2 separate regions of the Homo sapiens genome follow, and region 2 is linked to region 1. The links are contacts of gene promoters, found by promoter capture Hi-C in human tissues and cell types (Jung and others, 2019). All regions are on one chromosome and are shown on one strand. The core of a region is centred on a gene start or on the middle of the fragment in contact, and the rest is flanking DNA. Distances in the headings are between cores, read along the strand shown. Region 1 holds the start of HSD17B4 (hydroxysteroid 17-beta dehydrogenase 4). Region 2 has its middle 71 kb from the start of PRR16.

The links. The method cuts DNA at HindIII sites, captures the fragments that hold promoters and counts their contacts. A contact is called where the count stands out against the background at its distance.
Region 2: a fragment that was not itself captured here is called in contact with the fragment with the promoter of HSD17B4 in region 1 in 1 of the 25 tissues and cell types used here (dorsolateral prefrontal cortex).

Annotation. Positions count from the first base shown.
Region 1 is chr5:119,450,515-119,454,986 of GRCh38, reverse strand. It overlaps HSD17B4 (hydroxysteroid 17-beta dehydrogenase 4), which reads right to left and starts at 2,490. Exons shown (of 24, transcript NM_000414.4): 1 at 2,354-2,490. The coding sequence starts at 2,411. RefSeq lists an enhancer at 2,340-2,389. The HindIII fragment of the contact is 10,263 bases long and covers 1-4,472 here.
Region 2 is chr5:120,390,752-120,395,154 of GRCh38, reverse strand. No RefSeq gene overlaps it. Among named protein-coding and RNA genes, the nearest start is that of PRR16, 71 kb to the left of the region's middle. The HindIII fragment of the contact is 4,037 bases long and covers 1-3,523 here.

The DNA of each region.
Region 1 (4,472 bases), core at 1,241-3,740:
TCAATAAGTATACAAATAACAAACTGAGATACATAAATTATTAGCCCCTTCCAAAAACAACCCAAGGCCAGGAGTAGTGACACACATCTGTAATCCCAACACTTTATGAGACAGAGGTGGGCGGATCATTTGAGGTCTGGAGTTCAAGACCAGCCTGGCCAACAGGGTGAAACCCCGTCTCTATTCAAACCACAAAAATCAGCTGGGCTTGGTGGTGTGCACCTGTACCCCCAGCTACTTGGGAGGCTGAGGTAGGAGAATTGTTTGAACCCGGAAGGCAGAGGTTGCAGTCAGCCAAGATCATGTCACTGCACTCCAGCCTCGGCAACAGAGCAAAACTCCCTCTCAAACAAAAACAAAAAGAACCAAAAATATACAGTTTTCCAAAACTAGGAAATTTCACCAAATAACTTATTTTAGAATTTAATCCAAGCAGAAGGATCACTTGAGGCCAGGAGTTTGAGACCAGCCTGGGCAACAAAGCGAGACTCCATCTCTTGAAAACATTTAAAAATTAGCTGGGCGTGGTGGCACATGCCTACAGTCCTAGCTAGTCTGGAAGCTGATGCAAAAGGATCACTTGAGCCCAGGAGTTCAAGGTTACAGTGAGCCATGATCGGGTCACTGCACTCCAGCCTGGGTACAGAGTAAAACCTTTAGCTCTGAAAAAAAAAAAAAATTTAATCAACTCTGAATGGGTAAGAGAGAATTTAACCAGTTTATGAACAGCAGGTGCTAAGTTCATAACTGTCTAGTCACAACTCATTGTTTCACAAAATCAATTTTGTGGGTTACAATTACAATTTATAAATAAAACAGAATAGAAAATAAATTTCAGGATGCATTGCCTGTACTACACACTATATCATGAACTGGTTTTAAATACAGATGTATGTGCTTGTGTAAGTGTACTGAGTACTGGTGTAAAATGTACTGCATACCATGTGTAAGTATGCTAATGGTGTCAAAAGAAGCAGTCCCTATCCTTGAATGATTTTCAGATATAGCCCCTGAAAAGGAAAGTCTCCTTAGCGATGGCAAAAACGTCTTAGAATGTAATCCCTGGACCTCCTGCATGAAAATTATCCAAGAGCTGTCAAAAAAGATTTAAAACACCAAGCGTTGTAAAATACATTATTTACAATAAAAGCAAAGTGTAAACAAAATGTTTTCCTAAAAACATTTAGAAGGTATGACTACACCCAAATACATGCCCATGCAGAGATAACCAGACAGCTATGGGTATAAAATACTTGGCTATTCATCAACACTGAAAGCATTTTCTGAAAGGCAGCATAAGAAGCCACTTTATCAATACAGATATGAAAGTACATAGGAATTAATTGACAGAATTCCAGTTTGTAACGTTTAATATATAACTCAAATAATTCATGCATTAGGGCCTTTCCAGGTATAAGGTACTACCAGTGGAGAATCAAAGGTGCATAATGTCAAGATCCCTGCACTTGGAGGTTACAGAGGTCACCCACTGGTGAGAAACTAATGTAAAATCTCACTGCACAGCATCTATGTTGGTATGAATGGTTTGTTTTAATTTTTTGTACTTTAAAAAATGGGGCTATTTCACATAACAATTTTCCATTTTGCCGCTCCTGAAATACAGGCAACTTTCCCACTGGCCGGTCCACTTCGGAATTCTCTGCTCTCCAGTTCCTCAGATGTGCCCATCCTACTCCCATTTTCTTTCTCCATCATACGCCTGACCCCTGTGCGCATTTGAGCTTACAACCTCTGCCAAGACTCCAGTGGATTTCGAGAACAGATTGTGACTTGCTAAGCATACAAACTCCAACGGGGAAGGGCTCTTATCAGACGCCCTCTTTAAAGAAGGTCCTCTCACGAACTTAAAATCTTACGACAGAGGGAAACAAACACTGAACGACCGAATGACTTTTCAGGAGCTGACATCTCTGCGCTTCAGGGGGCGAATTCCAGCCCCCGCCCCTCGCGGCTTTTCAGTCCTTTAAAAGACTAGGCAAAGATCTAAGAGAGTTAATTGCAGGAAGAGTAACAATCGATGCCCACAGATAAGGGTCAGGGAGAACTTTCACCCAGTTTTGCAATCAGCAGCCCAGCCTGGCCTCTCCTCTCAGGCAGGACCTTGGGAAGCCCACACCGGGGTGCTGGGGAGAAGCGGGCTGTACCTGCTTGAGAGACCAGGTGTTTCCGGCTCTTTCCTCCTCAAGAGATGCGGTGCCTCAAGAATAACCATTCCCCTCCCCACCACCTCAGCGGGGTGACCTCAGCTGCGGCTGCGCGCGTATGCCGGCCCGAAAAGAGCAGCCAGCTGCGCCTCAGCAAGGGGCGCGGCCTCCAACCTTCGCATGCTCACCTGCCCCCGCGCCGGTGACCAGTACCACCCGCCCGTCGAACCTCAGCGGTGAGCCCATGAATAAGGCCTGCAACGACACACACACGAACAAGCAGAGCCGCTGGACGCCGACTGCGGGACAGGAGGAGGCGGGGAATGGCGGGGGCGGGACGAGGGTCAGTGACTTGCCGATTTCTGGTAGGAAGATGAGCGCAGAGCGCGCGGCTCCCTTGGAATCCTGGGAAATGTAGTTAAGAGTGACTCCACTCGCTGGAAGACTTGCCTTCCAGGGGCCATTTCTGCGGCTGGAAGCAATGGGAGCTGCTAGGACTTGTGTAGAAGAATAGTTAACTCGACACCTTGCGTTCATCTATTCACCTGTCGTTTCATCATTCACTCAATAAACGTTTTCTGGGTTTAGTTGCTGACCTAGAGAAACAGCATGCGGCCCCTATCCTTGAGGGGCTTCCAGAGATAGCCCCTGGGAAGGAAAGTCCCCCTTAGGGATGGTAAAGATTTGTCAGTGTAATAATCCCTGCACTTCTACATGCAAACATCAGGGGACTGTCAAAATGCAGAGTCCTGGACCCCCACTGCTTACCTCCCAAAATAGAATCTCAAGGGGCAAAAACATTTTGACAAGTGTTCCTAAATGATCTTGCGTTTGTATGTTGAGAACAGTCATAGTTCAATCAACATTTACTGAGCATCTCCTGAGTTTTGATAGGATCCTCAAGCTACTCAGAGTCAGATGGTAAACTTTCAATAACGGTGCAGCCTAGACTTGTGACCAATGTGTGTAAGTGAGCTAATGGTGTCAAAATAAACAGACCCTATCCCCGCTGGGGAGAAAGAGGAAAAACTTTCTGAAGGAGGACCAGGACCTAAAGTGGCGACCCCTGCAAAGAAAGAAGGGCATTACAGGCAGCACAAACACTAGCTAGGTTTGGGGAGAAAGAGGGTAAAGCCACAAAAGCAAAGCCAGCAAGATCATGTTTAGATGTTTGAATTTTGTGCTGAAAACGGTTTTAAGTAGGATTACTCCAGAGAGTGGTGGGAACACATTTACACTATGGAAAGATCACTTTGCCCATTATGGAGGATTGATTGGATGTTGCGGGAAGTCATGGACCCCAAACAGAGGGACCTGCTAGAGCCGCAGCAGAGGAACATAAATTGTGAAGATTTCACGGACATTTATCAGTTCCCAAATAATACTTTTATAATTTCTTATGCCTGTCTTTACTTTAATCTCTTAATCCTGTTATCTTCGTAAGCTGAAGGTGTACGTCACCTCAGGACCACTGTGATAATTGTGTTAACTGTACAAATTGATTGTAAAACATGTGTGTTTGAACAATATGAAATCAGTGCACCTTGAAAAAGAACAGAATAACAGCAATTTTTAGGGAACAAGGGAAGTCAACCATATGGGCTGACTGCCTGCGGGGTTGGGCAAAAACAGCCATATTTTTCTTCTTGCAGAGAGCCTATAAACGGACGTGCAAGTAGGGAAGATATCACTAAATTCTTTTCCTAGCAAGGAATATTAATATTAATACCCTGGTAAAGGAATGCATTCCTGGGGGGAGGTCTATAAACGGCTGCTCTGTCTTATGTGGTTGAGATAAGGACTGAGATATGCCCTGGTCTCCTGCAGTACCCTCAGGCTTACTACGGTGGGGAAAAACCCGGCCCTGGTAAATTTGTGGTCAGACCAGTTGTCTGCTCTCGAACCCTGTTTCTGTTGTTTAAGATGTTTATCAAGATAATACATGCACTGCTGAACATAGACCCTTATCAGTAGCTCTGCTTTTGCCCTTTGTCTTGTGATCTTTGTTGGACCCTTATTAGTAGTTCTGCTTTTGCCCTTTGTCCTGTTCCCTCAGAAGCATATGATCTTTGTTCTGCTTTTTGCCCTTTGAAGCATGTGATGTTTGTACCTACTCTCTGTTCTTACACCCCCTTCCCTTTTGCAACCCTTAATAAAAAACTTGCTGGTTTGAGGCTCAGGTGGGCATCACGGTCCTACTGATATGTGATGTCACCCCCGGCAGCCCAGCTGTAAAATTCCTCCCTTTGTACTCTTTCTCTATTTCTCAGCTGACTGACACTTATGGAAAATAGAAAGAACCTATGT
Region 2 (4,403 bases), core at 256-2,755, 940 kb before region 1:
GCAATGAGAACAGACTAACCCAGTATGTGTGTTTGTGTGTGTAGTGGTAAAAACACTTAACCTGAGTTATACTCTCTTAACAAAATTTTAAGTGTACAATATATAGTTAACTATAGGTACAGTGAATACAGCAGATCTTTAAAAGTTACTCATCTTGCATAACTATACTTTATACTCATTGAACTGCAACTACCCTCTACCTCCTTCCAGTTCCTGGAAACCACCATTCTATTCTCTTGTTTCTATAAGTTAGATTATTTTAGGTACATCATATAGTTGGAATTATGCAGTATTTCTGTGACTAGTTTATTTCTGTGACTAGTTTTCTTCACTTAGTGTAATGTTCTCCAGATTTATCCTTCTTGTAGCATATGGCAGGATTTCCTTATTTTTTAAGGCTGACTAATATTCCGTCCTGTGTATATGGCACATTTTCCTTATCTATTTATATATAAATTGATGATAACATACATAAATATTTCAATACCTTGGCTATTGTGAGTAATGCCACAATGAACATGGGATTACAGATGTATCTTTAAGATCCTGATTTCAATTCTTTGTGATATATACCCAGAAGTGAGATTGCTGGATCATATGGTAGTTCCTTCTTTAATATGTTAGGAAACACCATGTCTCCTATTGCTTTTTACAGCAGCTGCACCACTTAACATTCCTACCAGTAGGGTACAAGGTTCCAATTTCTTCACACTTTTGCCAATACTTATCTTGCTTTTTAATAACAGCCATTCTAATAGGTATGAAGTAATATCTCATTGTTTTGATTTGCTTTTGTTCTGATTATTAATGATGTTGAGCATCTTTTCATATACCTATAGGCTATTTATATGTCTTCTCAGGAGGATACATGTCTATGCAAGTCCTTTGCCCATTTTAAAATAAGGTTATTCATTTCTTCGCTATTGAGTTGTAGGAGTTCCTTATACACTTTTGATATAAACCCCTTATTAGATATATGGTTTGCAAATATTTCTCCCATTCCATAGGTTATCTTTTCACTCTTGATTGCATCCTGTACTATATAGAAGCTTATTATTTGATGTCATCTCATTTGTCTATTTTTGCTTCTGTTTCTTATGCTTTTGGTGTCATATCCAAGAAATCGTTGCCAAATCCAATGTCATGAAGCTTTTCTCCCATTTTCTTCTAGGAGTTTAACGGTTTCAATTCTTACATTTACATTTTTAAACCATTTTGATGGATTTATTTTTGTGTATAAATAGGGGTCAGATTTTATTTTATTACATGTGGCTATCCAGTTATCCCAACACAATTTGTTAGAGAATATATTTTGTCAAAGGTGCCTAACATAGTTTTAACATCTTATTTTTTAAATGTAGCAGGTGAGTTCTTTATCCACATACCCCTTGCCTTTTAATACCTGCCAACAGACTTCCAAATATCATCAACTTCTCTTTGCCTGAGGGCTTGCTCTGGCTGCAGGAGCCCACTCCACCTGTGCATAAAGCAGGCTGGAAATGCTGGGGAATCAATGTTCCACAGGAGTGGCTTTTAATCATTAGCTGCCAAGATTTGGTTCATACGATGCAATTCTCTCCCCTCAGGGGTAATACGCTTGTGGGACTAAGCTATAGTTGCCCGCTATAGTAATCTGTTTGATGATGCACTTTTATTGGCTTCCTTCCCTTTTCTTTATCGCTTCACCACTCCTCTACTTATGTTTATGGGACCACATCCCAGATGAATTATTTGCATATAAATCCTGCCTCAAAGTGTGATTCTGGGATCCAAACTAAGATACTAAATCTAAACTTAATTTCTGTTACTTACAGCTCCTAAACCTATCCTGCTGTATTCGAGAATCCCACATCATGTAAAAATGTCTATTCACATGATGAAAAATAATCTAAGCCCTCATGGTATTTTTTTCTTTGCTCATTTAGAATTTCGTAAAATAGCATGAGCATTGGTGTTATAGACATCTCAGGTCAAATACCAGGTTTTGCTCTTAATAACCAAGTGACACAGGACTATTTACATAATTTTGCTGAATTTCAGTTTCTTTTTGGAGAAATGAGGGTACTTATAACTCTCTTATTATGAAAATATATAAAATAAGCATTTCCAGACCTACGTTGCACCAGTCACACAAATGCTCACCATATACACATTCCTATTCTCCTTTTACTTTGTTACATTTTTTGACCTCTTCTTAATCGAACTTCTTTCATTTTTACATAAACAATAATTAAACAAAAGTTAAAATACCCAAAGAAATATAGTTTTGGTGAAGTAACTAACTACACAAGGCACTTAGATACTTGATAGAACATTTCACTCAAGGTGACAACTTTATTCTACAACTGAAGATATTTTTACTAAGTGTAAGCCCCTACTCAATATTTAAGCTACAAAAGTTACCTTGCACAAAGCTCATCCTTCTAGTAGAGATATGAGCTGCTTTCTGTACCTACTGCTTTTGGCAGCCCACACTTTGATTGTGGTCAAATATTCAGCAATTTTATCATACATCCTTGATGCCCCAAATATTTCCCCTGACATTGCCTTCCCCATAGCTTCAGGCTCTAAACTTTTCCCTCGACTTATTTTCCTCATCTCTGTCCATTCCAACATCCTCTTGAGTCTGACTAACCTGATAAAGAAATTTAATCCAAAATGTTCTTCCAAATTTTTATTTGGGCTTTGTTAACTCCAAGGAATAGCTAATATGATAACTATAAGCACACAAACAGAAGCTTTAAGGCATATATATTTGGACAAGAAAATATTTTTCAAATTCTACCTCACAGGTGAATGCTTGTTCCTGAAAAGTATAACAGTGGCTCTGAGACTCTTAAGTTAAAATAAATCTCCTATTTCCTCAGCATTTTAGCCATTATCAATTGTCATTCCAACAATATTTGATATACCCTGACTTTGAAAATGAGTGCCTTTTTAAAACTATTTATTTAACAAATACTTGTTAAATATTACTATGTTCATAACATTGTTCTAGGCATTAAAAGTTAGCCAATAAAGAATTCCATACCATAAAAGCTTAGGTATTTGTCTTGTTAGTTCAGGCTGCTACACCAAATTACTATAGACTGGGCAGCTTATAAACAACTGAGATATATTTCTCACAATCAGTATACTGGAGGTCTGAGATCAGGGTGCTAGCATGGTTGGGTTCCAGTGAGGGTCCTCTTTCAGGTTACAGAATACCGACTTCTTGTTGTATCCTTATATGACAGAGAGCAAAGTGAAGCAAGCTCTCTTGGGATGCTTAAAAGGGCACTAATCCCATTCATGAGGGCTCTACTCCCATGACCAAATCACCTTCTGAAGGCCCTACCTTCTAATACATCACATTGAGAGTAGGGTTTCAGCACATAAAATGTAAGGGACGCAAACATTCAGCCTATAATTGTATTGTAGTTGCAAAATCAAAAAAAATATGCTTGAAGTTGTTATATATAAGTTTGAGACTGTATTTGACTTAATGTCTAAATGAATTTGTTTGCCTAATACATTCTATTTGAGTTCTAGACGGGTAAGATAAATGGGCATTAGAATAATTAAGAAAGACTACACTGTGTGTGTAAAGACTGAGTCAAGCCCAAAAGAAGGGGGATCATTTGAATATAAGTACAGAAAGAATAGCATCTTAGGTGGGGAGACTGACTAGCAGAGGCTTAGAAAAGAGATGGAGAATAGCTATATGGAAAAGAAAAGCAGCCCAACGGGCTAAAGAAGTGTTCTAATGCTGAGGAGTGAATAACTTGACTGTGGCTAGATTTCCTATGCTTAGTTAAAAAGATGTATGTGCCTACAGGTTTTGAGATTTTGTGTCAGAGTATAGGGAAGTCATGAGATATATACCATATATCTTTCTGGAGTAACAATTTTACTCACATTTAATAAAAACATTAATTGACATCAACACAAAGAGCACTATTGAGTGTAGGTTGTAAGATTCAAATGAAGCTCAGCTGAAAGACCTAAGCTGACAACATAGATGTAAGCTTTGTTAACATCCTATTGGTAACTGAAGGCCTGACAATGAGTGTGATTATCAAAGACAGTGTTCAGAGTAAGAAAAACAGAGTTTTGGAGCAGACAGAGAAGGAGCTGCACATGAAGGAGCTTGAGAGAAAGTAGTGGGAAAAGTAGCAGGTACCCTAAGACAGAGGTGTGATGGAAGCCAGGATTTCAAAGAAGAAATTGTCATGCTTGTCAAATACTGTAGAGAGTTCAAATGAGATACACATTCAAAGTGTATTCTTTAAATTTAATACTTAATAAGTGATTGGCAACACTTGACAGAAGATTTTTCAGGAAAGTTGTGTGTTGGGAAGCTCAAATAAGGTTAGAATTTTAGAGTGATGAGGAGGGTTTCTTCCCTATCCCCAGAAAGTGGC